4 separate regions of the Homo sapiens genome follow, and all the other regions are linked to region 1. The links are contacts of gene promoters, found by promoter capture Hi-C in human tissues and cell types (Jung and others, 2019). All regions are on one chromosome and are shown on one strand. Each heading gives the region's core, a stretch centred on a gene start or on the middle of the fragment in contact. The rest is flanking DNA. Distances are from core to core; before and after follow the strand shown.

Region 1 (7,178 bases), core at 4,149-6,648:
TTCCCTCTTGCCTCTAGTTAGTAGTAAATTTTGTCCCCAGGTATTTATAGCTTTTATTACAGTTGTGAATAGGATGTGTTCCCCAGTGATTATTGCTTTTAATGTGATTCATCTGTTCCAGTTTGCCTGGGACCCTGGCAGTTTTAGCACTCAAAGTCTAGTGTCCTGGGGAACACCTCCCAGTTCCAGGCAAATCAGAAAGATTGGTAACCTGATCGCAAAACTATTAATTTCTGAATATTTTATCTTGTGTCTGGCTCCCTTACTGAAGTCTTGTAAGTGCTAGTCATTTTTCAGCTGATAGCCTATCTGGAAACTCCAAGAGAATCATTTCATCAACAAATAACACTTTTGTCTTTTCCTTTACATGATTTGCATTTTTTCTTTCTCTGGTTTTTGTGCACTGGCTAAAGCCTTCAGAACATGGAATAATTGTAGAGACAATGGACATCTGTTTCTTATACCTAATTCTGCTGGAAATGCTTCTGTTTCACCAGGGAGTGTAATGTTGCTATGGGTTTCTGGTAGATAATCTGTAAATAAAGGAAGTTTCTTTCTACTTCCAGCTTACATAGAAGTTTTTTTGTCCTCTACAAATCAGGAACACATCCAAAACTTTATCTTTTTTTTTTTTTTTTTGAGATAGAATTTCACTCTTGTTGCCCAGGCTGGAGTGCAATGGTGCGATCTTGGTTCACCCCAACCTCCGCCTGCTGGGTTCAAGTGATTCTCCTGCCTCAGCCTCCCGAGTAGCTGGGATTACAGGCATGTGCCACCACACTGGGCTAATTTTGTATTTTTAGTAGAGATGGGGTTTCTCCATGTTGGTCAGGCTGGTCTCAAACTCCCGACCTCAGGTGATCCGCCCGCCTTGGCCTCCCAAAGTGCTGGGATTACAGGCGTTAGCTACTGCTCCTGGCTTCCAAAACTTTAATCTTTTTTAAAAAATTGTTTCCTGCTGGGAGTCAGAAAAAAAACCCACTTTTTTGGGTCATCTATTAAGATGTTGTCTTTAATCTATTAGTAGACTTCTTAATGTTGAACCATCCTTGCATTCCTGGGATGTTGCTAGTATTTCTCAAACACTTATTTTGTACTAGACATTCTAAGTGTTTATTTAATCCTTACATCTCACTAAGAGGTAGACAGTCCCACTTGTGATGAGGAAATTAAGTCACAAGTAAGTTAAATAAGTCTAAGGCCACATAGTGAGTGGAAGGGCCAAAATTTAAACCCAGGGAGTCTGGCAGCACAGCCAGACTCCTAACCATTACACTGTCTGCCTCTCAGTCTTACTTGGTCACAATGTGCTATTAATATATTTTTTAAAAAACACAACTACATTTGATATTCTAAGTATTTTATTTTGGATTTTTGCATCTATATTTTTAAGTAAGTTTGATATACAGCTTTCACTTGTATGTTCTAGTAGAAGCTACCTAGCCTCATAGGAAATGTTGGGAAGTTTTCCATCATTTTCTCTCTGGAATGGTTTGGATAATGGGATTGTCTGTTACCCTCTATTAAACTATCTCTTCCTGGTGCCTTTTGAGAAAGGGGTTAGAATGTAGATTTTTCATGATGTATTTGATTCCTACACCATAGTGCTTTTAAGCCAGAATCAGTCTTCAAATTCTTCACATTTTCTTGGAAGACACTGCTTTTCACAGGTATTGGAAATATGTTTGATTGAGTGAGGAATTTTTTTTTTTAGCAATAATGTCAATAGATATGTGGTCTCTAACATTAAAATAGGTGGGAAACTTCCAAATCTGCCACCTATCCTGTAGGTTCTACTTGATAACACTAATGGTACCACTTCATGTAATTTTATATAATTTTCTTCAGAAGTCTGCAGAAAGATATGTTTTACTATCATTTTTTAGGTGGAAGAAGCAAGAAAAAAAGGATTTACCTAATTCTGATAAAACCAATATAGGAACCAAAAACAAATGGCAAAATAACTTTATAATGATGGGGAAAAAGAAGCTAATGTCTAAAATTGTTTCTTGGTTTTTGTTTTTTTGTTTTTTGCTATTTTTGAGATGGAGTCTCGCTCTGTCACCCAGGTTGGAGTGCAGTAGTGCAATCTCAGCTCACTGCAACCTCTACCTCCCGGGTTCCAGCGATTCTCCTGCCTCAGCCTCCCGAGTAGCTGGGACTACAGGCACGTGCCACCATGCCCGGCTAATTTTTTGTATTTTTAGTAGAGACAGGGTTTCACCGTGTCAGCCAGGATGGTCTTGATCTCCTGACCTCGTGATCCGCTCGTCTTGGCCTCCCAAAGTGGTGGGATTACAGGCATGAGCCACCGCGCCTGGCTTGATTTTTGTTTTTTAATCAAGAACTACCAGTAGAAGAATTTCATTTAGAGATATAGAGGTTCCTTCCCACCAAAAAAGTCAAGATTTAAAAAAAACTGTTCCTTGTGATGAACCCAGCTAGGGATGGGAGGGGTGGGGCTGGGAACCACTGATTTCCATTCACACTTTTTCTATGACACATGATGCTTTAAATCTGGCATATAAAATATTTGATTTAAAAAAATAAAAGAAGAAGAAGAAAGTGAGAAAGATGGAACCTACCAAAGATGAAGTTGTCAGGCCGGAAAAGCTGCCCAAAAGGCCCAGACCGCACGCTGTCCATGGTGCCTGGCTCTAAGTCCACCAGGGCGGCCCTGGGCACATATTTCTGAGCTGGAGGAGAAAAGAACCACCCACAAGAGTTACTTTCAGGTTTCTAAAGTAATTGACTTCCCCGTTTCAAGTCCCACCAGTTCTAGCTGCCTGGAATGGATCAACCAGGGTCTTTTCAGAAAGGGTACAGGAACTTTCTTAGAATCACAGAATTGGCTGGGCGCACTGGCTCATCCCTGTAATCTCAGCACATTGGGAGGCTGAGGTGGGCAGATCGCTTGAGCCCAGGAGTTCAAGACCAGCCTGGGCAACAGAGCAAAACCCTGTTTCTAAAAACAAACAAACAAAAAACCAAGAAAATTAGCTAAGTGTGGTAGTGTGCACCTCTAGTCCTAGCTACTCTGGAAGCTGAGGTGGCAGGATCATCTGAACCCAGGAGGTCAAGACTGCAGTGAGCCATGGTTATGCCACTGTACTCCAGAGTGAGACCTTGTCTTTTTTTTTTTTTTTTTGCGATGGAGTCTCGCTCTGTTGCCCAGGCTGGAATGCAGTGGTGTGATCTCGGCTCACTGCAAGCTCCGCCTCCTGGGTTCATGCCATTCTCCTGCCTCAGCCTCCCAAGTAGCTGGGACCACAGGTGCCCACCACCACGCCCGGCTAATTTTTTTTGTATTTTCAGTAGAGATGGGGTTTCACCGTGTTAGCCAGGATGGTCTCGATCTCCTGACCTTGTGATCTGCCCACCTCGGCCTCCCAAAGTGCTGGGATTACAGGGGTGAGCCACCGTGCCTGGCCGAAACCCTGTCTCTTAAAAAAAAGAAAGAAAAAAAATCCTAGAACCTTAACACTGGAATGAGGAACGAGTCCAGGCATGACCTGGCAGAGGAGGTTCCAGGAAGAGGCAGGATGAGAAATCAAGTCCCCTGACTTCCTGCCTACTGTATTTTCCAGCTCACCCTGACACCTCTTTCCTGTTAGGAAGTTTTACAACTTTAGCTCCATGGAAATAAACTAGGTATTTACAGCAAATTGCCAGGTTTGGATGAAATTCTCTGCTTTGTGACACCTCCCCCATGCATACACATACATGTGCCCATGTGCAGTCTGAGAACCTTGTTACCCGGAGCACGCCACTGGCTGTTTCCCCAGAGTCACTCTCATTTTGAGTCAGAGTGTTCTTGTGTGGAAATTTCATGCCAATTGGGCTAGAACTTGTTCCCGGTGAGGACACGGTTAATATGATTCCAGATAGGACCTGCTCTTCAACTCCTGTCCTGCAGTGCACTCGCCAAGATCGAAAATGGATGTACCCAAGCTGGGTGAGGGATTAACATGAAGTGCAGTGTATACTGGAACTATCCTTAGTGTCCTCTAGAAATTTCATCTTCCATGCCCTGATGTTCCCAGCCTTTTGTCATTGCTGCGTAAATGAATAAAACTCCACTCGTTGCTGAGAACTGCCTGGAGTTTCAGCTTCCAGGGAGGTTAAAGTCTTTTTAGAGGTCTGCAAGGGACCAGAAAAGTCACTTAAGAGAGCGTTTCTCAAATTTTTAGCCAAGAATCCCCAATAAGAGATACGTTTTAAACTGGGGGGGGGGGGGGGGAAGCTTTGTTTTTCCCAAGGATCCTTGAGAAACGCTCTAATTTATTCTAACAGGGTCTCGCTCTGTCACCCAGGCTGGAGTGCAGTGGCGCGATCACAGCTCACTGCAGCCTCGACCTCCTGAGCTCAAGCCCTCAGTTAACTGGTACTACAGGGGTGGGCCACCAAGCCCGGCTAATTTTAAAATTGTTGTAGAGATCGGGGCGGGAGGGGGGCGGGGGGTGGTCTCCTATGCTGCCCAGGCTGGTCCTGAACTCCTGGCCCCAAATGATCCTCCAGTCTCGGCCTCCCAAAGCGCTGGGATTAGAGGCTTGAGCCACCGCGCCCGGCTAGACAGAGAAGGCTGGGCAGGAACCGCTACGTTGATTTCACAACGCTAACGGGTGGTCCCGTTCAAGCGCTCAGACCCTCAGGATAGGCTGAATCGAGCTGTTTGAATAAACTGACGGCGGATTTCCCGCCCCGGAGGAGCGAAGGGAGTGGCCGGGCATCCTGCTACACCCCGAGAGAACTTTTCCCGAAGCAAACTCGCCGCGCTAAGAGGCGGCGCCGGAGCGTCCACGCGGGTCCCGGCCGGGCAGGGCGCGGCGGCCTTGCTACTCACACGATGACTCATTGTAGTAGACGTTGATTCTCTCCAGCTGCAGCGCCGAGTCTCCCACGTAGCCTCCGGCCGGGTCGATGCCGTGCTCATCGCTGATCACTTCCCAAAACTTGGGCAGGGCAAGGCGGGGGGACAGACGCTCAGAACCCAGAGCCCGGGACGCCGCCACCCGCGCCCACCCCAGGCGCCCCGGCGGCCGAATTCCAGGCGCGCCTGAGCCGCCGGCAGCCGCTCCCAGTTGGGATGGGGGTGGGGAGCGAAGAGTAGAAGGTCCCCGGCCGGCCACGCCCCGGGCGCTCCCTCCCTGCGGCCCTCGCGGGTCCGCACCGGGCTCCGAGGACCCAGGGGCGCACAGCGGGTGCGCGCCCCGGCGGGGGTCGCGCCGGGAGACCCGGGGCCCGCCAGCAGCCGACCCGCGGAGAGGCCCTGCACCGCGCCAGGCCCACCTTGGTGCCGATCTGGTTCCCGCACTGGCCCGCCTGGATGTGCACGATCTCCCTCATGGCGGGCGCGGCTCTGCGCTAGGAACTGGCTCTGCGGACGACAGCGGCAACTGCGGGCCGGCTGCGCGCGTCCCGGGGCCGACCCTCCGCGCCCCCGCCCCCGCCCCGCCGCTCGCCAATGGCTGCGGGCCCCGCCCCGCCGCCCCCGCTCGACGCCGCGGCCCGGCCTGCAGCAGCCGAGGGAGGACGCGCGGGCGCCAGTCGGGGGACCCTTGCCGGGAGCCGGGCGGAAAAGGACGGGCCCGGAGCTGGCGGGGAGGAGACGGGAAGGAGCGCGGCGCCCGCCCCCACCACCGTTTCGCTGCCCCTTGTGGTGCCCCGCCAGAGGGAGACGCGAGTCGGGCCCTGGCGTCGGGGCAGCGGAGCCGACGTGGCCCGCGGGGTCCCAGCGCCGCGCCCGGGAGCATTGCAGCCGCCCGCGCCCAGTCCAGCCAAGCCGGGACACTGCCCTGGGGTTCGGCGGTGGAGCTTTTCAGGGTCTCTGCCCCCTGCCCCCCACCCCCCGGTCGCACCCCGGGCACACGTTCTTAGGGCCTCTTCGTCCTGGTGTTTCCGTCTCCGGAGATACAGAGGCCATTCCTCTCCGACGACTCCCACCCCTTTGGAACCGGGTTTAGCTAAAGTGACTACAGGGCTGGATCCGAAAATGAACACCTCCTGCGCCGGGTCTATGCAGCCTACTCCTCGCGCGTTAGCGAAGAAATGCGCTTCGGCCTGGGAGGGCGCGCCAGAGTCCGTCTTCCTGGCCAGTTTTGTGTGGTGGAAAGGAATGACTGCTGATGCCGGCCGGGTGACTTGGATTTTAATTCTAGCTGTTTTCAGTTAGCTCTGCGCTTCAGCGGACTCCTCTGTTAACGGAAAAGGTTATCCTAGGGGAGCCTTTCAGCCTCCAAAATGCGGGATGCTCTGGCCTCTGCAGTCAGAATGTGCATGCATCAGGGCTTTTGCGGAAGTTTCCTCACGTGAACGCTGCAGGCTGGGACCACCGGGGTAGCCTCTGCGTCCCCTCCCAGGCCCGTAGAAACGCCGCACATGAGGAAGCGACGATGTTCTGTAATTTGCACTGGCACTTTCTTTTTAGACAGATGAAAACTTTGGGAAATTCCTAATTGTGTGTGTGCATGTTTGTACGTTTGGAAGGGAGTGGAGAACTTTTAAAAGTTTTTCTTCTGGAGTTTTGCAAATGTTTCCAAATTGAGGAATTTTTTTTTTTAACCCTTGGGTCCCCGCCTCCCCACTGCTCTCTCCACCCCAGTGCTGCTCCTCGGCCTTCTTGTGGGTCCCCACACCTCTTTACACAGCCACACGCCCAGGGAGCAGATGAGGAGGCCACAGCCCAGCCCCTGCGCTCCCATTTCAAACTATGAGCCTGAGATTAATCAGCCACCTTCTCCTGAGTCCTCAACACCCTTATTTAGGCTGTTTGTTTCCATTGCTTAATTATTGACTCCAACGAGTGCTACCTTAACCCATCCTGCCGGCCCGAAGTCTAGTGTGGGGAGCCCGAGAGCGGAGGGCCTGTGCCATCCCTGGAAGAACCCTTCCTCCAGCTTTAGTCTCTCTCTCTAAGAAATCCAGCCATCAAGTGGTTTAAAAGAAAGTGTCTACTTTAGAAGCTTTGGTCGTTTGCTGAAATAGCCACCCTTTCAGTGCTAGCCCTTGGGCTGGAATTTAAGTCCAGGGGTCTGATCGAGCCAGAAAGTAGGTGTCAGCGTGGCTTCCGGAAGTCCGTTGTCACTTGGATTTGACAAGGGACAAGCCGACCTGCTGGTTTCTGGGCTCCTGCTCGCTGTGCGCTCTGCGCTGTCTGCAGGGATTGGTGCCCGCGGAGT
Region 2 (7,409 bases), core at 543-3,042, 310 kb after region 1:
AGGACCATCAATTGGCCAGGTGCCCGGACGTGACATCCATCACGTCTTCTGATAAGCACACACCAAGGACCCGCTCATGCCAGGCCCTGTGCTGCCAGAAGAAGCACACGGGGAATTCTACAGAACAGGCAGGAGCCCCCGAAACTCAGCCTCCCATGTGCTCCTCCCCATACGGGGCTGCCTGCTCTTCTCACTGCCTACATCCCAGAGCTGGCCCACGCTGTACTGAGCCAAGGCAGTTTTTGTTTTAATCTTGGTTGCAAAAAAAACAGATATATGTTATAGAAAATTCAGAATGTGATAGGTCATACCAAAAAAAGCATACAGCGTCCACATAGCCATGTCCACTGGGTAGCCATAACTCCAGGACTTCATATTCCTATGACAGCCTCCAGCTCCCACTGCCCAGGCCCTGCCTCTGGCCAGGGTTTCCTAGTTCCTGCTCATTGCCACCAGGTCAATTTTCTCAAATCACCAATTTGCACACAGGACTCTCAACAAATCAAGCTCCACAGGCCTTGTCTGTGAATCTCACACTCCTCACATGTGGCTCCCGTAGCATCTGCCCATGGTCCAGGACCCTCAACCCTGAGCTGGCCAGACAGGCCTTCGGCACAAAGCTTGTCTCATGTATGGCCACGGTGATTCCTGATGTGTGTGTGTCTCTGTTGTGTACCTGTAAGTGTGTGTTCATGTGGTATGGGGGGAGTCAGGGTGTGTGTCTCTGTGTGTATCTCTGTGTGTGTGTGTGTGTTGCTGTGGTGTGAGAGGATGCAGGGTGTGTCTGTATGTCTATCTCTGGGTGTGTGTGTATCGGTGTGGTGTGGGAAGATGCAGGGTATGTGTGTCTCTGTGTGTATCTCTGGGTGTGTATGGATTTCTGGGTGTGTGTGTGTGTTGGTGTGGTGTGGGGTTGTGGGGAGTGTGTGCATAGAGCTGGGGTGAGAAAGGCAGCCTAACCAGGGGACACAGCCCCAGAGAGGATATGGCAGCAGAGCCTCTGGGATCATCAAGGAAGGGCAGACTGTGCTGCACAGGTCTGACTGGGGTCTGAGAGCTGCATTTCTGGTAAGCTCTATGGTGACCCTGATGCAGGGGTGCTCACTTCAGTAGCATGGAGCTAGAGCAGAGTCTCAAACTCCCACGTGAAGAGAGCCACTAGGAGACCAGGATGTTCCACCTCAGCGGGCGGGGTGGGCAGGTGGTGGTGGGTTCTGAACCCAGGACCACCATCTGAGAAGACAGTGGCTTTACTTCATGCTTGTGGCATCCCCACATGGGGAGCAGCCATAAAGCTACCTGCAAGGGTGGCTGGTATTCCACTCGTCCACACTTGCAGCCTCTACGCAGCAGCTGGATGGGGAATTTTCAGACACCAATTACATCACATCACTGTACTGCAGAAAATGATCCAACGGCTTCCCGCTGCTCACAGAACACATCCCAAACCCCAGGGCCCTTGGGAAACTCCAAATCCCAAATCCCAGGGCGAGCCCTTCACAGCTCACCTCCGACAGGTCAGCCCCAAGTTGCTCTCCTGCTGTGCTCTGGGGTTTTCTCACTGATCCTAACCAAATCTGTTTCTGCCCCCAAGGACTTCCTGTTTTCTGATCCTTCTACAACTTACCATATCCCATCTGAAACCATCCTTCCTGTCGGTTTTGTTTTTGACTGTCTCTCCCAGGCAGGAGCTCAGAGGGCAGAGCTCTTTCTACTTCCCTTCGTCCTTCCTGTCTGTTTTGTTGTTGACTGTTTGTCTCTCCTAGGCAGAGGCTTCTGAGGGCAGAGCTCTTTCTGCTTCCCTTCTGTACCCCTAGCATCAGGAATGCTCCCTGGCATTCAGCAGATACACATACAGCAGGTACACAGAGTTCTTTGAAAGAATGAATAAAACACACATTGGGCTGCTTGAATAGACTGTAACATTTTTCCAAACGGGAACACTAGTGTCTGTGTGAGTGCTGACCACCCAGGTCCTTCTGTCTGGCTGTTTTTCTGGTTGCCCTGTTGAAAAGATCCAGTGCTTCCATCCACAAGTCCCACCTCCTGGAGCTAGACCAGATCTGCTTCCTGCACTCAGACCCACTCTCCCGGCACAGCCAGACGCACTTCCTAAAACATGGTCACGGTGACCATGCGTCTCCCCAGCAGAGCACTTGGTGGCGCCCTGTCACTATGTGGATAAAGTCAAAACCCCTGAAGGGAGCATAAAATAGCTTCCAGATTTGCCCTTGTAGCAGAGACCATTTGACCCCAAACGTCCAGTCTCCCCTTCTTCCTTTTAGGAACAGAACCTCCAAGTTGGAGCAAGCACAGAGCTGCCTTGCAATCTGCACACCACGCGGATACGTGTGGCCTCAGCACCAAGTTCTGCCCCAGAGGATGGGACTGAAAGCAAGACCTGCAACTTCCGAGTCACATCCTCAAAAGGATACTGCCTTGCACTTCCTCGTGTCCCATTCCCCCTCACCACAGGCTACAAAGTAGGTGTGGTGCTGCCCATGCAGGAAGAAACACCTCGGAGCAATGAGGGAGGACAAAGCTGGATCCCTGGATGACTTTGTGGAGCAGACCACCCCACCCCATACCTCTTACTAACTAGACTTCCCCTGCTCCTCTTACTGGCCTCTGTGAAGAAACCAAACAAACCATCCACTCAGCAGCTGCGGGCCTTTCCCGACCCCTTTCTCAGCTCCCCTCCCCTCCCCTCCGAGCTCTGAGAATGCCATGGCCCTGTCACATGGAATCATTAACCCTGGAGTCTCCTGATGGAACCGCCTCAGCCAGCCCACTGTCCTCCTCCTTCATGACTCAGTTCAAACATCACCTTCCACATGAGGAGCCTCCAGCTTCTGCGGGCAGAGGGGCACTCACCCAACTGTGACTACAGCACTTACACAAGCCACCAACTGGCACCCACAGCACTTATCACTCCATGTGTCTGCTCAACCAGCCTGGGTAAGGAACCCTACCCTCTCTGTCTCTGTCCACCTCCAACAGGCCATGGTGCACCCTGCATGGGGGCTGCCTCATGGGGGTCTCCAGGAACACCTGCTGAGTGAATGCATAAAGAGTCCTTGGCTGCTGCACACTGAGCTCACAGTTAACTAAATGCTAGAAGATTTTGTAATATGTCCTTTTGTGTCACCTTATCGAAGCTCACTGGTATTTATACACTCAGTTTTCCACATTCAAAACATACACAGCTGTGTGTGTGGAGGAGGCGGGTGCTGGGGGCCCTTGGGGCAGCTTGGAGAATGCTGCAATCTGGGTGTGTCCGCCAGGAAAACAGGGCCGAGTCATGGGTTACAGAGTGGGAAGAGTGGATTCAGAGGCAGGATGCTGTGTTGTGTTATGCTCTGTTGTTATTTTTCTCTTGAGACAGGGTCTCTCTCTGTTGCCCCAGATGGAGTGCAGTAGCGCAATCTTGGCTCACTGTAGTCTTGACCTCCTGAACTCAAGCAATCCTCCCGCCTCAGCCTCCCCAGTAGCTGCAACTACAAGCACGCACCACCACACCCGGATCATTTTTATTTTTATTTTGTAGAGCTGAGGTCTCACAATATTGCCAAGGCTGGTCTCAAACTCCAGGCCTCAAGTGATCCTCCCGCCTCGGCCTCCCAAAGTGCTGGGATTAAGACGTGAGCCACTACACCTAGCCTTCATAATCTTTTAAAATATTAACTGTTTTCTGCTTTTATTAATATTTATTATTGCAGTTTCTCTGATGACTTTCTTTGTGAGTGTGTCATAAGGAAGGCCATGGGGCTCGAACATGCCTGTACCTCCTACCAGCAGGGCAGGTGACCCTGTGGCCAGCCTCTTCCACTAGACCTGGCCTCACAATCGGGCTGCTGTCTTGCATCAGGTGTGCAAGGCCCTTCACACCCAGCCAGGGCAGCATGCCCCATGCCAGGCTCAAGCCCCCTCGAGTGTCCTCCCTCCTGTACCTCCATGTCTTTGGACACGATCCCTTGTGCCTGCAATGACATCCCTGGCCACCTTCTGCCTGTCTGTGCTCTCAGCCTCCATCTACTCCAGCACAGCTGCTCCAGGAGGTCGCCCGTGTGGCCGTCCGCCCACTGCCCTGGCTGAGGCCCCTCTTCCTGGGTCAGCTACTGCACAGTCCACTGTACTTGGTCACTGCCCTGTCTCCTCCACTGGGCCATGCACTCCTCCAGGTTGGGAGCTCTGCATTTCATCCCAGTAGCTCCAGGAACTACCCTCACCCCGGCAGGGTGCTGATGCCAGCGACATGCACCCATATACACCAGATAGGGCTCTATCAGGTGTACTCGGGGGCCTTGCACACATGGGGGCTGCGCCAGCTAGCTTCCTTCAGTCACCAACAGACAATGACACTAAGCTAACCTAAAAAAAGTCAGAAGCCTTGTCCTGTAGCTCTTCATGAAGATGGGTATGAAAAATTCCCTTCCAGGATGTAATTCTTGTTTTCAGCAGTTTCATAACATCAGTGGGAGTAGAGAGGGATAAAGTACACTCCAGAATCAGACAGCTCTAAATTCAAATTCTATATGGGTTCTCATGGCCTTCATTTCCTCTTCTGTAATAACAGTGTATCTAACACATTGGGTTGTTTTAGGAATCACATGAGGTATTGTATGAAAAGGTCTTGGTCCACAAACTTATTTACACACAGAACCTCACCAGTATCAGTTGTGAGAACATGTATCTGAGAAAATCTAATGACTTTTTCAGCTAATTTTTGTATTGTTACAAAAAATAAGAACCTACCGTACATACAATGTACACGTTGCAAATAGGATGCTAAAATACTAGGTTAAGAAAAGTTTAATTCACGAATTGTCCTATGCTAAGAGAAAAAGTGAGGAAAAGTGCTGTATTTCTAAAATCAGTAAGCGAGACTCAAACAGCCCTGCCCTTTAGCCAGGATCACGTCCACAGGGCGAGGGAGCACATGGGGTTGCCAGGTAAGGTCCCGCTGAACCCCTTTACCACGGCTATTTTCCCTCAGTCTTAGAGATTTTAAACACTCTCACTCCACCAGCAATGAGTTAGGTATCCTGGTTTTTAATTAATGTTTTTCAGCTACTCGCTAACTAAGCATGCACTTCACAGACCCCCCTGGCTCGGGTCTCTCCTTCCAGTAGCATTCTGTTAATGTATAACATATAAAATATGGGCCTGAAGTCACTGAAGCCTGAATTTCAAATCTAAAAGGAAAGGTCACCATCAACCAGCTTCAGAGACATCCTAGGCTAACATATTCATGGAGACGTCCAACTATCTTTCCTGTCTCACCCCATCTTGTTCTTGTGCTCCTGTCCCCATCCGACCTTTATGCCAGTCACTGCAGGGCAGCTGGCATGTGCTCTGGAACCCAGGCCCTGTGCATCATCCACAGAGCAGCACGCCGGAGCCTTGCCAGAGTGCAGTTTCAATAGGAGATGTGTCTTTCCCTCTGTCAGGTCAGGAAGATGTGGCCACTGGAGGTGTGCACCTGACGACACGCCCCATGTTTATGCTTCCAGATTTACTGCAACACAAGTGAATGTGTTGTGATGGTTAATTTTATGTGTCAACTTGACTGAGCTACGTGGAGCGCAGATACTTGGTCAGACATTGTTCTGGGCTAGGCGTGGTGGCTCATGCCTGTAATCCCAGCACTGGGAGGCCGAGGCAGGCAGATCACCTGAAGTCAGGAGTTCGAGACCAGCCTGGCCAACATGGGGAAACCCTGTCTCTACTAAAAATACAAAAATTAGGTGGGTGTGCTGGCACACGCCTATAATCCCAGCTACTCAGGGGGCTGAGGTAGGAGAAACGCGTGAGCCCAGGAGGTGGAGGTTGCGGTGAGCCAAGATTACGCCACTGCACTCCATCCTGGGAGACAGAGCAAGGCTCCATCTCAAAAAAAAAAAAAAATTGTTCTGGGTGTTTCTGCGAGGGCATCAGCATCTTAATCAGGAAAGTAGATCCCTCTCCTTCCTGTGGGCAGGCCTTGTCCAACAGCTGAGGGCCCAAACAGAATGAAAAGGCTGACCCTCCCCCAAGTAAGAGGGGGTTCTCCGCAAATGGCCTTGGGACTCTGTCCACATGAACAACTCTTCCTGCCCTATGGCCTTCAAACTGGAACATCAGCTGTCTCTCCGCGTCTCCAGCTGCCAGCCCACCCTGCAGACTGGACCCACCCACCTCCTGCCGGTCCTGTTTCTCTGAAGAACCTGATACGTGTGACAATCAATAAAACCTAACAGTTCATCGGGTACCCAGGTAATAACACGCCTATCACATGGTGTCATGTGGCACATGTGGTCAGCAGTTCACAGCTGTTGATGCGTCACAAATCTCTGTACAACCTCAACCCTGGGAGGAAGAGGAGGAGCTGGTCCAAGCAGACGTGGCTCCCAGGCCAGCCCACCTCAGGCTCTCGAATCCTCAACGCCTCCTTTAGTCTCGTGGCTATTTTTCCCCTCACCTTGATCTCTAGTCGCCCTCCGCCCTGACAAGGCACTGGCACCTTCCATACCAATGCCAGCAGCCACCCGTCACCCACATCCCAGCTGCATTCCCTGTGTTCCAGGGCCCGTGGCCTGTGGCCCCTGCCTCCCCTCGTGGCTTTCCTCCTATCTCCCCACCATTCTGCGGCTCATCTCCCTCCCACTATTCCTTGAAAGTGGGTGTTTGCAAGCCCTCGGACCTGCCTTCAGCAGCTGAGCTTCCTGGAGATGGCCTCCACCTCACACCCTGCCCAGCTCCACGGCCTGAGCTCAAGCTTACAGAGCGCTTCTTCTGCCCCGTGCTGTTCTGAGCAGTTCACATGTACATTTATTCCACACAGTAACTCTGAGGACAGCAAAAATTATTCTCCACGTTAAAGATGAGGAAACGGAGGCAAAAAGAAATGGAGAAAGTTGCCCAAGGCCCTGCAGCTGTAAGGTATAGGGAAGGGGTTCCCAGCACCACAGTCCAAGTCCACCATCGCTAAACAGAGCCGACCCCACGGCTGGAGCCGTCACAATTGATTACTTCCTAATCCCTCTCCAGCTCACATTTCTCTCAAAAGCAATGAGAGCCAGCCAGCTGCATGAGCCAGAAACCCAGAAGTCCTTTATTCCTATGTCTCCTTCAATGTACGACTCATCAAGTCCACCCCAACTCACAGCCCCCAAGGGCCACACCCCATCAGTTCGAGCAGGACACCCACCTGCAATTCTGCCCTCCACACGGGGCCCCCAAGTCCTGACCTCTCCCACCTCAAACTTTAGCCAAAGTGCATTTCTTGGAGGTCCTTGGTGCTATGTTCTCTTTTGCCCCTTCTGCTTTCATCTTCTCTATTGGCCCCGACCCCTCCTCTTCTCTCTCCCCTCCCCAAGCCCATCACCTAACCTTCCTAGCTGACTCCTGCTTTTTTTCTAAAGACACAC
Region 3 (7,560 bases), core at 4,065-6,564, 460 kb after region 1:
CTCGAACTCCTGACCTCAGGTGATCTGCCCACCTCGGCCTCCCAAAGTGCTGGGATTACAGGTGTGAGCCACCACGCCCCACCTGTATTGTCATTTTGAGTAAACACTGCTGAATTGTTTGTCCTGGCATTTCTCAGCAGGGAGAGGATGTACAAACCCTGAAGAACAGAGGCAAACATTTCATTGTGGACAAATGCTGTGAAGGAAGAGGACACAGCTCTTGAGTGTCCATACTTGGGACTCTGTGCGCTTAGGGTGCCTGCTTTACCTGCCTGTCTGCTGTCATCAGAAAGCTCGAGGCACTATCAGGAGTGACCACCCAGGCCAGGCACACGTTTGCTATGCAGTGCAAGGAGCCCACTGTGGGAGGCACCACACCAGGCCCAGAGACTGACACTATGACAGACATTGCCTGGCCCGGGCTCCCTATGGAATTTGCAATCTAATGTAGAAAAACAAACCTAGGTAAACCAGACAGCATTTTGCTAATTCCAGTCAGTTGATTCAACACAAAAACAAAAACAGGGGTCTGCTCATCAGTTTCCTTAGTGTCCACTGGCTTGCAGCTTTTTGCTATAAAGATCTTGAGCTTTGGACTTTGGCTACAGAATTGCCAAGAGGATGTTGTGTTTTTGCAGAGGAAGTCCCTCCCTTCTGCTTTATAGTGTGCTTGGCCAGCTGATGCTGATACTATGCTCAGTTAATAAGGTTCTCTTATCAGACTGGTGCTTATTTTCAGCACTTTTTTTTTTTTGAGATGGAGTTTCGCTCTTGTTGCCCAGGCTGGAGTGCAATGGCGCGATCTCGGCTCACCGCAACCTCCACCTCCCGGGTTTAAGCAATTCTCCTGCCTCAGCCTCCCAAGTAGCTGGGATTACAGGCATGTGCCACCATGCCCGGCTAATTTTGTATTTTTAGTAGAGACGGGGTTTCTTCATGTTGGTCAGGCTGGTCTCGAACTTCCAACCTCAGATGATCTGCCTGCCTCGGCCTCCCAAAGTGTTGGGATTACAGGCGTGAGCCACTGCACCTGGCCCAGCAGTCTTTTCCAAATCAAAGACAGCAGGGCGGGCACACAGTGTCCAAACCTCATGGTCTGCCTGTATTTAAAAGGCATCTAGATACATTGGCATTCCTTCAGCAAGAAACAGCTTTAGTAAGAAAATTCCCCAGCAGCACACACAGTATCATCTGGGTTCCTGAACTGAAATAAACTAAAAGTAGAGGAAAGTATTTTGTGAATTAATCCAGTCTACCTTTTTTCTTTCAATCCTAAATCCATGTTAGAAATTGTGCACTTGAAGGCGGAAAAATGAAAGGAAGAAATATAACTAGTAGTTAAATGGAAGATTAACTAGTTAACTAGTTCCCTGATGTGTTTCAGTTGGATACTTTTGTAAATTATATCCATCTTTGGTGTAGGGAAGTTTCAATGTGAAAAAAAATCTTGTAGTTATGAAGAAACAATTACAGTGAAGAAGCCAGGGGACCGGGCGCGGTGGCTCACGCCTGTAATCCCAGCACTTTGGGAGGCCGAGGCAGGCGGATCACTTGAGGGTCAGGAGTCCGAGACAAGCCTGGCCAACATGGTGAAACCCCGACTCTACTAAAACAACAACAACAACAACAAAAACAAAAATTAGCCAGGTGTGTTGGTGCGCATCTGTAGTCCCAGCTACTCAGGGGGCTGAGGCAGGAGGATCGCTAGAACCTGGGAGGTGGAGGCAGCAGTGAGCCGAGATCGTGGTGGCACTTCAGCCTGGGCGACAGTGAGACTCCGTCTCAAAACAGCAACAACAAAAATAAGCCAGGGATCCTAGAAATATGCAAGAAAAAGCCATACTAACCAAACAAAAATTTAAGTGCTAAGACTGAGGGTGAATTTGGAAAAATATCATGCTTTCTGACCCAAATCTACCTCAGAATTTTTTTTTTTCCTTTTTTTGAGACTGAGTTTCATCCTTGTTGCGCAGGCTAGAGTGCAATGGCGCAATCTTGGCTCACCTCAACCTCCGCCTCCCAGGTTCAAGCAATTCTCCTGCCTCAGCCTCCTGAGTAGCTGAGATTACAGGTGTGCAGCACCACGCCCAGCTAATTTCATATTTTTAGTAGAGGCGGGGTTTCTCCATGTTGGTCAGGCTAGTCTCAAACTCCTGACCTCAGGTGATCTGCCCACCTCAGCCTCCCAAAGTGCTGGGATTACAGGCGTGAGCCACTGTGCCCCGCAATTCTTTTTTCTTAAGTGTTTTTTAAAACAGGATGCACACTCACATCCAATAACATGCAGTTTAAAATGATTTAATTGACAAATTCTTGTGATTTACATTTCAGTAATCAACTGCAAAAGTGAGGAAGTAATTCATGGGCCTGTAGTGCTTTTGAAAATAATATTTATGACTCATAAAAATGTACATTCATAATAGTATGACATGGACATATTTTAAGAAAGTTCAAGCATATACAAGCATTGTTTAATCTCACAAAATATATTAATTTTGTTGGGAATATGTGCATTATAAAAGGGTCTTTAGTTTACCAAAGGGTTCAACACTAAGCTATTTTTAAAGTTGTAATTATTTTTTCCAATCTAAAGAGGGGTTAAGGCCAGGTGCAGTGGCTCATGCCTGTAATCCCAGCACTTTGGGAGGCTGAGGTGGGCGGATCACCTGAGGTCAGGAGTTCAAGACCAGCCTGGCCAACATAGTGAAACCCTGTCTCTACTAAAAATACAAAAAAACTAGCTGGGCATGGTGGTGCACACCTGTAATTCCAGCTACTCGGCAGGCTGAGGCAGGAGAATCACTTGAACCCGGGAGGTGGAGGTTGCAGTGAGCAGAGATCGCGCCACAGCACTCCAGCCTGGGCAACAGAGCGAGACTCTGTCTCAAAAATAAAATAAAAGAGGGGTTAAGACTCATGCTGTCTTCACACATGGCCCTGCACAACCATGTGGAGGACAGGAGGGATATTCTTGAGAGATGCTGGGCAGACAACTAACAAGTGTCCCTTAAAGCACACTTCTGAACAATGTCCAGTCAAATATAAAATAACTTAAATATGAGGGTCACTCCTCATCTGCACGCACCTGTTACACTTTTTTTTTCCTTACTCATTTACACTGGGAAACATGTTATAATAGTGAATAGTTGGTTATGAATCTTTCAAAGAACTTGGAAGGGCCCCTATAATTATTTTCTGAAACAATGGAATTCTCTTATGGAAAAATCTTCCAGTGAAGGAAAGGGTAAGTTAAAAAAAACTTGAATTAACTTAGGTTAGCATGCTTGCCAAGGCAAAAGCAAGTTGCTTTTCTCCATGTTTCGAGGCTATGAGAAAGCGGTGGATACATGCTTTACTTTTCAGCCAGAAAATACGCACTGCCATTCCTGAGAAGATGGCAGGCAGCACAGCTGGGCTCTAGCCTTAAAGACTCAAGCTTTCTCCTTCCTTCCAGTCCTACCTCTTTACTTCTCAGATTTCCAGCTGGCTGGATGTATACATAAATGACTTGCATGGCTAAGTAAAACATTCCAGCTTATATTTTCAAGGATTTCCAAGAGTTCTTGCTTTTGGACAAATTAATAAATGCAAATTAGAACTTAAAACGCAGTTCTAATTTTATTTCTATTTTTGGTTGTTAAAATCAAAACAAAACCTACACACACACAGTCCTAGGGTTTTCTCAAACGAAATCAACAGTTCTTTGGCAATGTTAAGAGTGTGTAACATGACTGCCATGCTAATTAGCATAATTTATAAGACTTCTAATAGTGTTGAAACAGGAAAATAACTATAAACTTGTTAGAGAAGTTCGTTTGAAAGACACTGTCAAATGTCACACTAAGTCTTTTTAAAAACTCAATTTAGTAAGTAGAAAATATAAATGAACAAATTTAATTTTTCCAGATAATAAAGGAAGTTATTCGGCATTTTTCCCAGTTACGCAAAGACAATTATCACGTGAAAAATTTATAGAATGTAAGCAGTAAGAGAGTATTATGCAAAAATATCCTAAGGTAATTTCAGTATAAATTATAGGACCACATTTATTAATAATATACGTTATGAGAACAATCATTTGCAGTCTCACTGTGAAGGCAAAAAAAAAAAAAACAAAAACCAAAACCCAAAGGATAAACAGAAATAGCACAGTCCACCGAATACACTGCATGGTGTTTATAACTGTATAACCAAACTAAGTAATCTTTCCCCTCTCTTTAACTTTTATGCACCACCTGCCATTCTAGATACTATCAATCACACTAAATAATAATAAAAACCAACCACCTTCAATCTGATCATTCTGGGCAGGAAACTGAATACAGTTTTGACCAGATCTTCGAGAAAGATTCATATACACGAAATTAACTAGTTCTGTTAAAAGGCTGCTATAAAAATACCATCATTACGAGCTATACAGAACTTTAGAATCCAGCTAAGAGTGCAGAAATACTGAATTTCTTAATTTATGTGGAGGGGGCTGTAAACCCAAAGGTAGAAGGGCATTTCAGCATTCTGGCGTGTTCAGAGTTTCTAGGGTATAGTATCTCTCTAACACACAGAGAGCATTTCAAAGGGTGGCTATGGCCAGGAAACCTCAGAGCGGGTTCTGCCGTCACACTTGATCCCGAAGGCGGGCCAGTCTCTGAGACAGTTCATCCTGCTCCGCCGAAGCCACGCTCGTGCCCACGGAGCCGGTCTGGCCCTGCGGCAGCTCCATGTTGAGGTCGAGGCCCGCCTCATCTGCCATTTCCTGGAGCAGCATATCCACTTGGTTCTGGGGAGTGGTGAGCGTCGTCGTGCTGCTCATCGTGTCTTCCATTTGCTGCGTCTGGACGTCCAGAGTCTCAAACTGGTGCTCGAATTTGTCCATCAAAGCAGAAATCTTCTCCAGATTCATGGTCTTCAATGTCGCATCCATCGACTTAACCACACCAGCCATCGACTTGGTCACCTTGCCCATCGTCACCGCCGTCTGGACCCTGGCAGCCACTGCATCGACTCGCGCACTCATTCTCAAGAAATTCACCGCCTGGTTCTTCTGGCGGATGGCATTTTCGGCGTGTATCCTCGCAACTTCCATGTTGCCCTTCTGAATGGCCTTTTTAATTTTGGCCTTTTCGGCCTTTTCCTCCTTATCGCATTTTTTGGCACTCCTACTCAGTTCTTTGGCCGCGAACTTCAGGTTGAACAGGTGTTTCTCCATGTTAGACATAGTCGGACGGCTCCTTTGGGTCGGCGGCCCGGCTGAGAAGCGCGCCGAAGGCAGAGAAGGTAAGGTAAGTCCGCTCCCGGCCGCCGCTCCTTTGTTTTGGTCCCACTTCCTGTTTCTACTGTGAGCGGCGCAGGTGGTGACGTCAGAGCCCAGCGCCAAAGGCGGAGCCTGCGGGACGGAAGGCGCCGGGGTGGGGCCTGTGGGACGTAAGACGCCAGGGGCTGCGCATGCAGGGGGATTCTGGCTGGACGCTCCGGCGCTGCGGCGGGGAACGCTCGCTTCCTGCGCTGCGTTCTACCCGGTTTTTAAAATTCTAACGCATTAGTCAATTCACAAAAATTAGTGCCCCCACGCACTTTCCTAGTAATAAATCTACCGAAGTAGACAGGATCTGTGGAGACCCGCGTGTAAAATTACCCACGCTCCAAACTTGGCAGGCTTTATAAAGGGTGACTGGCTAGCGGGCTAAAAACCAGCCAAACATCAGCTAGGTCTTCGCACTAACGCTTGCTTTATTAGCATGGGTAATTTCCACTTTCTCAGGGGAACTGGAAACCATGGATACATTAAAAACAAAAACATTAAAACACATTAAAAACAAACGGGTCATTGACGCGTCTCCATCTTTGACTACAATTTGTGCTAGAGTTCTGTAATATCCTTTTATTGCATTGAGTGAAAATAATCTTCAAAACTGTGGCACCACCAAATTTATACTTTGTCTGGAAGTTCAGCTTCTAGGTGAGTTGCCAGCAATTATCCAAAAATCGTCCCGTGGTTTAGTAATAAAAAGACCCATCTTTTGCTGACACCATTCTGTCTTTTTGATGTTTTATAAATATCCAAGGAACTTCACTCACATTTAAGTTTGACAGGCTAAACTGTCATTTTAAATTATGCAGGCAGAGTATGTTGAGATATCAGGACCCACACCCACGGGCATACATCAAAACTGTCACTATGTATTACGCCCTTTAAAAATGCTGGCTTTCAAATGGCAGCAATGTGTGCTGTCACTTTTCTCTTTAGAAAGATTCCTCCGATACAGCAATAACAATGTGAGAAGACCAAATCTGCCCTAATGAGGTAGGCTGAAAATGAACTCTGAGAGCGAATTCTGTTTAGAGATCATTTTAATCTAGCAGCCTGCCACCTCGCTTAGCTTCCTGTGATAGCTTGCCAGTCAGTTTCACAACACAAGACCTTCTGAAGACATAGCTCTGATGTTTTCACTCTCTTGCTCCAAACCCCGGGCATGGAGGCTAAACCTGCTGTGCAGCATGCTGGCTCGTCTTTCGCGCCCCTCCACCTCCGCCAGTCAAAGCAAACCGCAGCATGGAATTTGAGCATTATTTGCGTCATTCGGCCAGCGGGGAGAATGTGACTGACGCCCGGTCCTGTGGCTATGCTGTTCCTGTTGCCTGGATTTTAGTGTCCATGCATCTCTGCCTATTGACACCCTGCCAGTCCTTCAAAAGCCACCTTCACCATGGAGCCTCCCCAGGACTCCTCCTCTGTGTGGCCATACTACAGGGCACATTGCCTGGCAAGGGGTCTGTGTGTATAGGTCACCTGTTACAGTGTGAACTACTTGGATGCAGACACTGATTCCTTCCCCTCTCCATGGAGCCCAGCAGGCGCTCTGCACACAGCAGCCACTGAATCCAGATGGCGTTGCTGAATTTAATTGTATTTCAGAGGGGATAGGATGTTACCCTAGTTAGCAGCTTAGCTATGGTTCCTTTTTGCCCCGCAAAGCAGTAGAACCCTTTTTCCAAATGAAACTTTTCTAGAAATGGAATATAAACAACCAAAAAAAAGGGGAAGAAATCTGTTCAAAGTGGATATAGAGAGCTTAGGCCCCCTACTCTGCTCACCCTCCATTCCACTCTTCCCTTCTTTTAGGTCCTGGTTTTTCTTGGAGTTTGCAAACAAGTTTCTTATCCAGCTTCCATGTCATGCTCCATAGTTTTCTTTTTTCTTTTCTTTCTTTTTTTTTTTTTTTTTTTTGAGATGAAATCTTGCTTTGTCACTCAGGCTGGAGTGCAGTAGTGTGATCTTGGCTCACTGCAGCCTCCCCCTTCTGGGTTCACGCGATTCTCCTGCCTCAGTCTCCCGAGTAGCTGAGATTACAGGCACACGCCAGCACTACCGGCTAATTTTTGTATTTTCAGTACAGCTGGGGTTTCGCCATGTTGGTCAGGCTGGCCTCGAACTCCTGACCTCAGTTGATCTGCCCACCTTGGCATTCCAAAGTGCTGGGATTATAGGCGTGGGCCACCGTGCCCAGCCCATAGTTTTCTTAATGACAAATTCTGACTAGGTGAGATGGTTTGGAATATAAT
Region 4 (7,380 bases), core at 4,502-7,001, 380 kb after region 1:
GGATGGGAATGTGCTCTGTTGCCCAGGCTTGAGTGTAGTGGCTAGTCACAGGTGCAATCATAGCTCACTGCAGCCTTGAACTCCTGGCCTCCAATGATCCTCCTACTTCAGCCTCCTGAGCAGCTGGGACTACAGACATCTGCCACTGAGCCTGACTTTCTCTGTTTTCTAATTATCAAAAAACATCTACTGGGAATCTTGTCTCCAGGTTACACTATGATCTCCCAGGCATCTAGAACAAGACCCATGAGTGAAATACCTCTGTGTATATTCTGTTAGCAAGCTTTGCAAGCTCCAAAATTGTGGCAGAAGACAGTGACATGCCCTGGGGGAGGGAGGTTGGCCAGATAGCTCAGAGGTCTTAGGGTGCTTGGGTGCCGGGCTCAGAACTGGCCAGACTGTTGGGGCCTCTGCTCTCTGGAGAGCTGGAAAGGGTAGAATCAGGACCTGGGCTTAGAGTGTGCACACTTGGTCTAGGATTTGTCTTCAGGATCAATTATTTTCTTGACAACCATCTGGTTGCTTTCTGCTGAGCCCTGCATTGGCACCGGCATTCCTGCTCCTCCCCAGCCATGGTCCCACACCTGCACTCTAGGCCCCTCCACCCCTCCCCTGGGAAGCGCCCTCACTGTGTGGTAGTCTGGACTGTTCGACTTCTTGGCCTGGTAATCCCTGGCTTTCAATCCCTGGGCCCAAGCCTGCTCTGCCCATGGCTGAACTTCGCCAGCTCTGCCTGCTCAGGGGAGGAATTTTTTTTTTTTTTTTTTTTTTTTGAGATGGAGTCTCGCTCTCTCAGACTGGAGTGCAGTGGCACAATCTCGGCTCACTGCAACCTCCACCTCTTGGGTTCAAGCAGTTCTTCTGCCTCAGCCTCCCGAGTAGGTGGGACTACAGGTGCACACCACCATGCCCTGCTAATAATTCAGGAGAGGATTTGACAGTAAGTTGATTCAGGGCACATTACTTTCTTTGCTTGGTTACAGCTGGAGCCAGTTTGTTCCAACAGTTAGTAACTTTACATCTTTGATTTTCCTTGGGATGTGACTGCAGTGTTTCCACAGTTATGGCTCCAGTTCAGGAATTTAAGAAAATTGCTTTGTGTAACATGAACTGGAAACTAGCGAACTAATTTCTTTTCTTTTTTTTCTGTTTTTTTTTTTTTTTTTTTTTTTTGAGACGGAGTCTTGCTCTGTCGCCCAGGCTGGAGTGCAGTGGCGCGATCTCGGCTCACTGCAACCTCCGCTTCCTGGGGTCAAGCCATTCTCCTGCCTCAGCCTCCCTAGTAGCTGGGATTACAAGCGCCCACCACCACACCTGGCTAATTTTTGTATTTTTGGTAGAGACCAGGTTTCACCATGTTGGCCAGGATGGTCTCAATCTCTTGACCTCGTAATCTGCCCACCTCGGCCTCCCAAAGTGCTGTGATTACCGGCATGAGCCACTGCGCCCAGCCTAGTGAACTACTTTCATAAACTACAGACCTGCTTCTTTGTAGAGTGAGTTCAAATGATGTCTGGGAAGTGATCAGCACTTGGATCACAGAGGAGTCAGGACTCTCTGTGCTTACTTCCTGCTCACGGAGTTGGGAAGTTTTAGCACTTTCAGTTGTTGCTACATAGACGGAATGTGATTACACCTCTACTCTTGACAGTTTTTAGAGATAATATTGGAGCATCTCTGTGCTAAAATCAAAAGCAATCTTTTTGTCTTATATTTATTTTGTAAAGTTATAAAAATAATTTTAAATACTATCAACTGAGACTATTCGCTCTTCAGAGGAAATTGTTCCAGTTTTTCTTGAAGGTCCTTACTTTATTCTTCTATTTTTCTTTTCCTTTTTTATTTTATTTAATTTTTATTTATTTATTTATTTATTTATTTATTTATTTGAGACGTAGTCTTGCTCTGTCACCCAGGTGGAGTGCAGTGGCGCCATCTCAGCTCACTGCAACCTCTGCCTCTCAGGTTCAAGCGATTCTCCTGCCTCAGCCTCCTGAGTAGCTGGGGCTACAGGCACCTGCCACCACACCCGGCTAATTTTTTGTATTTTTAGTAGAGATGGGGTTTCACCGTGTTAGCCAGGATGGTCTCAATCTCCTGACCTTGTGATTCGCCTGCCTCAGCCTCCCAAACTGCTGGGATTACAGGCATGAGCCACTGCTGGTCTCTCTTCCTTCCTTCCTTTCCTTCCTTCCTTCCTTCCTTCCTTCCTTCCTTCCTTCCTCCCTCTCTCCCTCCATCCCTCCCTCCTTCCCTCCTTCCCTCCTTCCTAGACAGAGTTTTGGTCTTGTTGCCCAGGCTGGAGTGCAGTGGCCCAATCTCAGCTCACTGCAACTTCTGCCTCCCAGGTTCAAGCAATTCTCCTGCCTCAGCCTCCTGAGTAGCCGAGATTACAGGCACTGCCACCACGCCCGGCTAATTTTTGGTATTTTTAGTACAGACAGGGTTTCACCATGTTGGCCAGGCTGGTTTCGAACTCCTGACCTTAGGAGATCCACCCGCCTCGGCCTCCCAAAGTGCTGGGATTGCAGGCATGAGCCACCGCGCCCGGCCCCTTCTGTCTATTTTTCAAAATGATACCTACTATTGTTTGAGCAAGTGTTTTGGCAGCCAGCTATGCTCATATTTTTTGCATTTATTTTGCTAAGGTACAGTCAGTCCATTACACTAGATATTTTTATAATTATACATAATTACTACAACAAATTAAATAAACTAAAACTTTAAAGGCATTAAAACACAAGAGAGTACTTTCTCTGAATTAGTGGTGATGGCAATAGTAAAGAAACAGGCTGGCCGGGAGTGGTGGCTCACGCCTGTAATCCCCGCACTTTGGGAGACAGAGGCAGGCGGATCACGAGATCAGGAGATCAAGACCATCCTGGCTAACACGGTGAAACCCCGTCTCTACTAAAAATACAAAAAATTAGCCAGGCTTGGTGGCGGGCGCCTGTAGTCCCAGCTACTCAGGAGGCTGAGGCAGGAGAATGGCGTGAATCCGGGAGGCGGAGCTTGCAGTGAGCCGAGATCGCACCACTGCACTCCAGCCTGGGCGACAGAGCGAGACTCCGTCTCAAAAAAGATAGAAAGAAAGAAACAGGCTGGGTGCGGTGGCTCTCACCAGCACTTTGGGAGGCTGAGGTGGGTGGATGGCTTGAACCCAGGAGTTTGAGACCAGCTGGGGCAACATGGTGAAACCCTGTGTCTACAGGGGACACAAAAAAATTAGCCAGGCATGATGGTGTGCACCTGTAGTCCCGGCTACTCAGGATGCTGAGGTGGGGGGGGATTGCTTGAGCCTGAGAGGTTGAGGCTACAGTGAGCTGAGATCATGCCACTGCACTCCAGCCTGAGTGATGGAGTGAGACCCTGTCACACACACACACACACACACACACACACACACACACACACAATTGTAGAGAAATATAAAGAATCTTGGAGGTTTTCAAATTTTTCTTCTGAAATTTGAGTGGTTGGCCAGGCGTGGTGGCTTATGCCTGTAATTGCAACACTGTGGGAGGGCAAGCCGGGTGGATCACCTGAGGTCAGGAGTTCAAGACCAGCCTGGCCAACATGGCGAAACCCTGTCTCTACTAAAAATACAAAAAAAGTAGCCAGGCATGGTGGCACATATCTGTATTTCTAGCTACTCAGAAGGCTGAGGCAGGAGAATCACTTGAACCCGGGAGGCGGAGGTTGCAGTGAGCCGAGATCGCACCACTGCCCTCCAGCCTGGGCAACAGAGTGAGACTCTGTCTCAAAAAAAAAAAAAAAAAAGAAAAGAAAATTTCAGTGGTTGACATGTTATAATAATATACATTGACACAAAGGCTGGGTAGTGTATTAGTCAAAAGTCACAAGTACCAGTTCTCACCCTTACTAGCTGTTGTGACCTTGGATAGTTTACTTAACCCTTCTAAGCTTTAGTAAGTGCTCAATAAATGTTAACCTAAACTGGAAGCAGGCTGGGCACAGTGGCTCATGCCTGTAACTCCAGCACTTTGGGAGGCCAGTTCAGGAGGAAGGCTTGAACCCAGGAGTTCAAGACCAGCCTGGGCAACATAGTGAGACTCTGTGTCTACAAAAAATTCTAAAAAATTAGCTAAATGTGGTGACGCATTTCTGTAATCACAGTGCTTTGAGAGGCAGAGGTAGGAGGATCACTTGAGCCCAGGAGGTTGAGGCTGCAGTGAGCTATGATCGTGCCACTGCCTTCCAGCCCAAGTGCCAGAGGAAGACACTGTCTCAAAACAAACAAACAAACAAACAAAAAACAAATTAGCTTCAGGTTCCCTTCCCCTCTTGTAATATGTATTGCAGTAACCAGCCTCTCCATAGCATAACCGATGATCCCAGCCTCCTGATATTCATGCCCTGTGTAGCTCCCTCCCATACTTTATCAGAGTTGGTCTGTGTGGCCAGTAGAATATTGTAGAAGTAATGTGTGTCACTTCTGAGATGGGGCTATAAAAGCCTGTGGCTTCTGCCAGCTTGGGGAGACGTTCATGCTGCCAATGGAGAGGCCCACTTGGCAAGAAGTCCGTTCCGGAGCAGCAAGGTACCCAGCCAGCAGCTGGGGGGAACTGCGACATCCCAACAACCATGCGGATGAGCACGGCGGCAGGGCCTCCAGACAACCATGAGGCTGAGCACGGCGGCGTGGCCTCCCGACAACCATGTGGATGAGCGTGGCGGCAGGGCCTCCAGGCCCAGGTGGCTGCAGCCTGGCTGACAGCTTAGCTGCGACCTCAGGAAAGACCTGCACCAGGTGCCCCAGCTAAGCCACTTCTGAATTCCAAACACTCAGAAGCTGTGAGATAACAGAGGTTTGCTAATACATGTGCCAATAATTCACATATCAACGCATCTGTGATCCTTACTCTCCTCTGGAGAAAATAGCCCTTTTTTTTTTTTTTTTTTTTTTTGAGACAGAGTCCTGCACTGTTGCCCGGGCTGGAGTGCAGTGGCACAATCTCAGCCCACTGCAAACTCCACTTACCAGGTTCAAGCGATTCTCCTGCCTCAGCCTCCCAAGTAGCTGGGATTACAGGTGCCCGCCACCACGCCCAGCTAATTTTTTATATTTTTAGTAGAGACAGTGTTTCACTATGTTAGCCAGGCTGGTCTCTAACTCCTGACCTCGTGATCCACCCACCTCGGCCTCCCAAAGTGCTGGGATTACAGGCATGAGCCACCACGCCTGGCCGCCCTTCTTTATTTAAAGCTGGGTTATTTCATCTAAGACATGCATTGCAGTGAGTCTGACCCTAGGCGATGTGCATCCTTTTTTTTCTTTCTTAATGTGCCTTAAATAGTGGTTCATCTTACAGTTCATGATGTCTTAGATTTGAGGAAATAGTAAATCATATCATAGTTACATGATCAAACTTTTTTTCCTTCTGAACCATATTTCCTCACGCTGTCAAAATTTTTGTATTTGGAATGAATGACTGGGTATCTGTAACAAAGATGCATAGGCACATTTGACACTTAGAGGGATTTCAGCGTTTACTGACCGATTGTGAAACGACATTATCATTGTGCAGTTTTTCTACATTGAAGAAACCTACATATTTATAGGTTTTCATTCACCATTCCTGACTCTCCCTTATAATATCCTTTATTACAGTCTTTTGTTATAATGTTGAGTTTTTGTTTGTTTGTTTGTTTGTTTTTGAGACAGAGTCTTGCTCTGTCACCTGGGCTGGAGTGTAGTGGTGCCATCTTGGCTCACTGCAACCTCCGCCTCTCAGGTTCAAGCGATTCTCCTGCCTCAGCCTTTGGAGTAGCTGGGATTACAGGCATGAGCCACCATACCTGGCTAATTTTTGTATTTTTTGTAGAGATGGGGTTTCACCATATTGGCCAGGCTAGTCTCAAACTCTTGACCTCAAGTGATCTGCCCGCCTCGGCTTCCCAAAATGCTGAGATTACAGGCATGAGCCACCATGCCTGGCCTTATAATGTTGAGTCTTTAGGCCTCAGAAGCAGGCCTCGGGAAACAGAATCTCTCTGAATTTCTCCTGCCCAAGGCGGGACTCGATTCTGATTGTGGGTCATAAGACCCTCATTGCAGACAGGGTCCTGTCCCACACCCTAGAGGAAGGAATGCTCCGCGGAGAGGGCAAGAAAGACCTGAACAGCTGAGCCTTGCTGGGTTTCTCAGTCTGTTACTATTAGATCATTCCCCTTTTGTCCAATCGCATTTCTGCACAGTTGTCCTCAATCACACCTATTCAATAATGTCTCCATAAAAGGCTCAAGAGGACTGGGTTCTGAGAGTTTCCAGATCGCTGAACATGTGGTGGTTCCTGAAGGGTGGTGGCCCTGGGGAGGGCATGGAAGCTCCACGTCCCTTCCCACATGCCTTGCCCTATGCAGCTCTTCATCTGTATCCTTTGCAATATCCTTTACTATAAACCAGTGAACATAAGGAAAGTGTTTCCTTGAGTTTTGTGAGCCCTCCTAACAAATCAATTAAACCCACGGAGGGGGTTGTGGGAACCCCAATTCATATCTGGTCTGCCAGAAGCACAGGTTACAGCCTGGGGCTTTTGATTGACATCAGAAGTGGGACAGTCCTGGGGACCGAGGCCTCAACCTGTGGGATCTGATGCTGTCTCCAGGTACAGAGTGTCAGAACTGAGTTGAATTGGAGGACACCCAGGGGGTGTCCATGCAGAACTACTTGCTTGCTTGGTGTGTGGGGAATCCGCCTCCCCACATTTGCTCACAGAAGACTTCTGTGATGATTGTTCTTGAGCAAGAGAATCGGAAAAGCACTTGGAACAAATGTGTTTTTTCCACCCAGAGACTGTTTACAAATCACCTGAGCGTGCAGTGACTTTATGCTCATGGCTTATAAATTCCATCCACCAATCACTGATAGGCTGGTCATTTAAATCACAGGACTGAATGCAGCTTGGGGGAGGATGTCTCCATCTGTGCCCCTCTCCCACATCCCAAATAGCTGTCAGTGTCAGGAGTGGTACAAGGTGAGAGGGGGAAGGGGGAGGAGGACAGGAGTAGAAATGAGGTGCTTCAGAATTTCCCCATCGTAACCAGAGGGCAGTTTGGTAGCAGGGGAAGTGTGGGTATCTAGAATCAGACTCCTTTATCAGGGCATGGTGGCACACGCCTGTAGTCCCAGCTACTTGGGAGGCTGAGGTGGGAGGATTGCTTGAGCCTAGGAAATAGAGGCTACAGTGACTGTGATCACACCACTGCACTCCAGCCTGGAAGACAGAGTGAGACCCTGTCTCAAAAACAACAACAAATTAAAAAAAAAACAGAATTAGACTCTTGCATGTTTATGTAAAACTAATGCAGATCATGATTATTTTCATAATGCATTTACTGGGTCTTGGAATTATGGCA

The links. Contacts are between HindIII fragments. The study calls those that stand out against the background at their distance.
Region 2: a contact is called between a fragment that was not itself captured here and the fragment with the promoter of TUBB6 in region 1, in 1 of the 25 tissues and cell types used here (pancreas).
Region 3: the fragment with the promoter of CHMP1B here is called in contact with the fragment with the promoter of TUBB6 in region 1 in 1 of the 25 tissues and cell types used here (IMR-90 fibroblasts).
Region 4: a contact is called between a fragment that was not itself captured here and the fragment with the promoter of TUBB6 in region 1, in 2 of the 25 tissues and cell types used here (IMR-90 fibroblasts and pancreas).

The regions. Positions count from the first base shown.
Region 1 is chr18:12,306,461-12,313,638 of GRCh38, reverse strand. It overlaps TUBB6 (tubulin beta 6 class V), which reads right to left and starts at 5,398. Exons shown (of 4, transcript NM_032525.3): 1 at 5,290-5,398; 2 at 4,844-4,952; 3 at 2,586-2,696. The coding sequence starts at 5,346. RefSeq lists silencers at 4,863-5,212, 5,233-5,332, 5,423-5,912. The HindIII fragment of the contact is 9,027 bases long and covers 1,723-7,178 here.
Region 2 is chr18:11,990,345-11,997,753 of GRCh38, reverse strand. All of the region lies in intron 1 of IMPA2 (inositol monophosphatase 2), which reads right to left. Among named protein-coding and RNA genes, the nearest start is that of IMPA2, 13 kb to the right of the region's middle. RefSeq lists an enhancer at 1,895-1,944. The HindIII fragment of the contact is 3,794 bases long and covers 1-3,689 here.
Region 3 is chr18:11,849,167-11,856,726 of GRCh38, reverse strand. CHMP1B (charged multivesicular body protein 1B) reads right to left here and starts at 5,314. Exons shown (of 1, transcript NM_020412.5): 1 at 2,283-5,314. The coding sequence starts at 5,215. The coding sequence ends at 4,616. All of the region lies in intron 5 of GNAL (G protein subunit alpha L), which reads right to left. RefSeq lists a silencer at 4,603-4,897 and enhancers at 4,904-4,953, 5,222-5,461. The HindIII fragment of the contact is 16,832 bases long and covers 1-7,560 here.
Region 4 is chr18:11,929,852-11,937,231 of GRCh38, reverse strand. The region is part of intron 2 of LOC101927511 (a long non-coding RNA gene); the gene reads left to right. Among named protein-coding and RNA genes, the nearest start is that of MPPE1, 25 kb to the right of the region's middle. The HindIII fragment of the contact is 7,294 bases long and covers 2,105-7,380 here.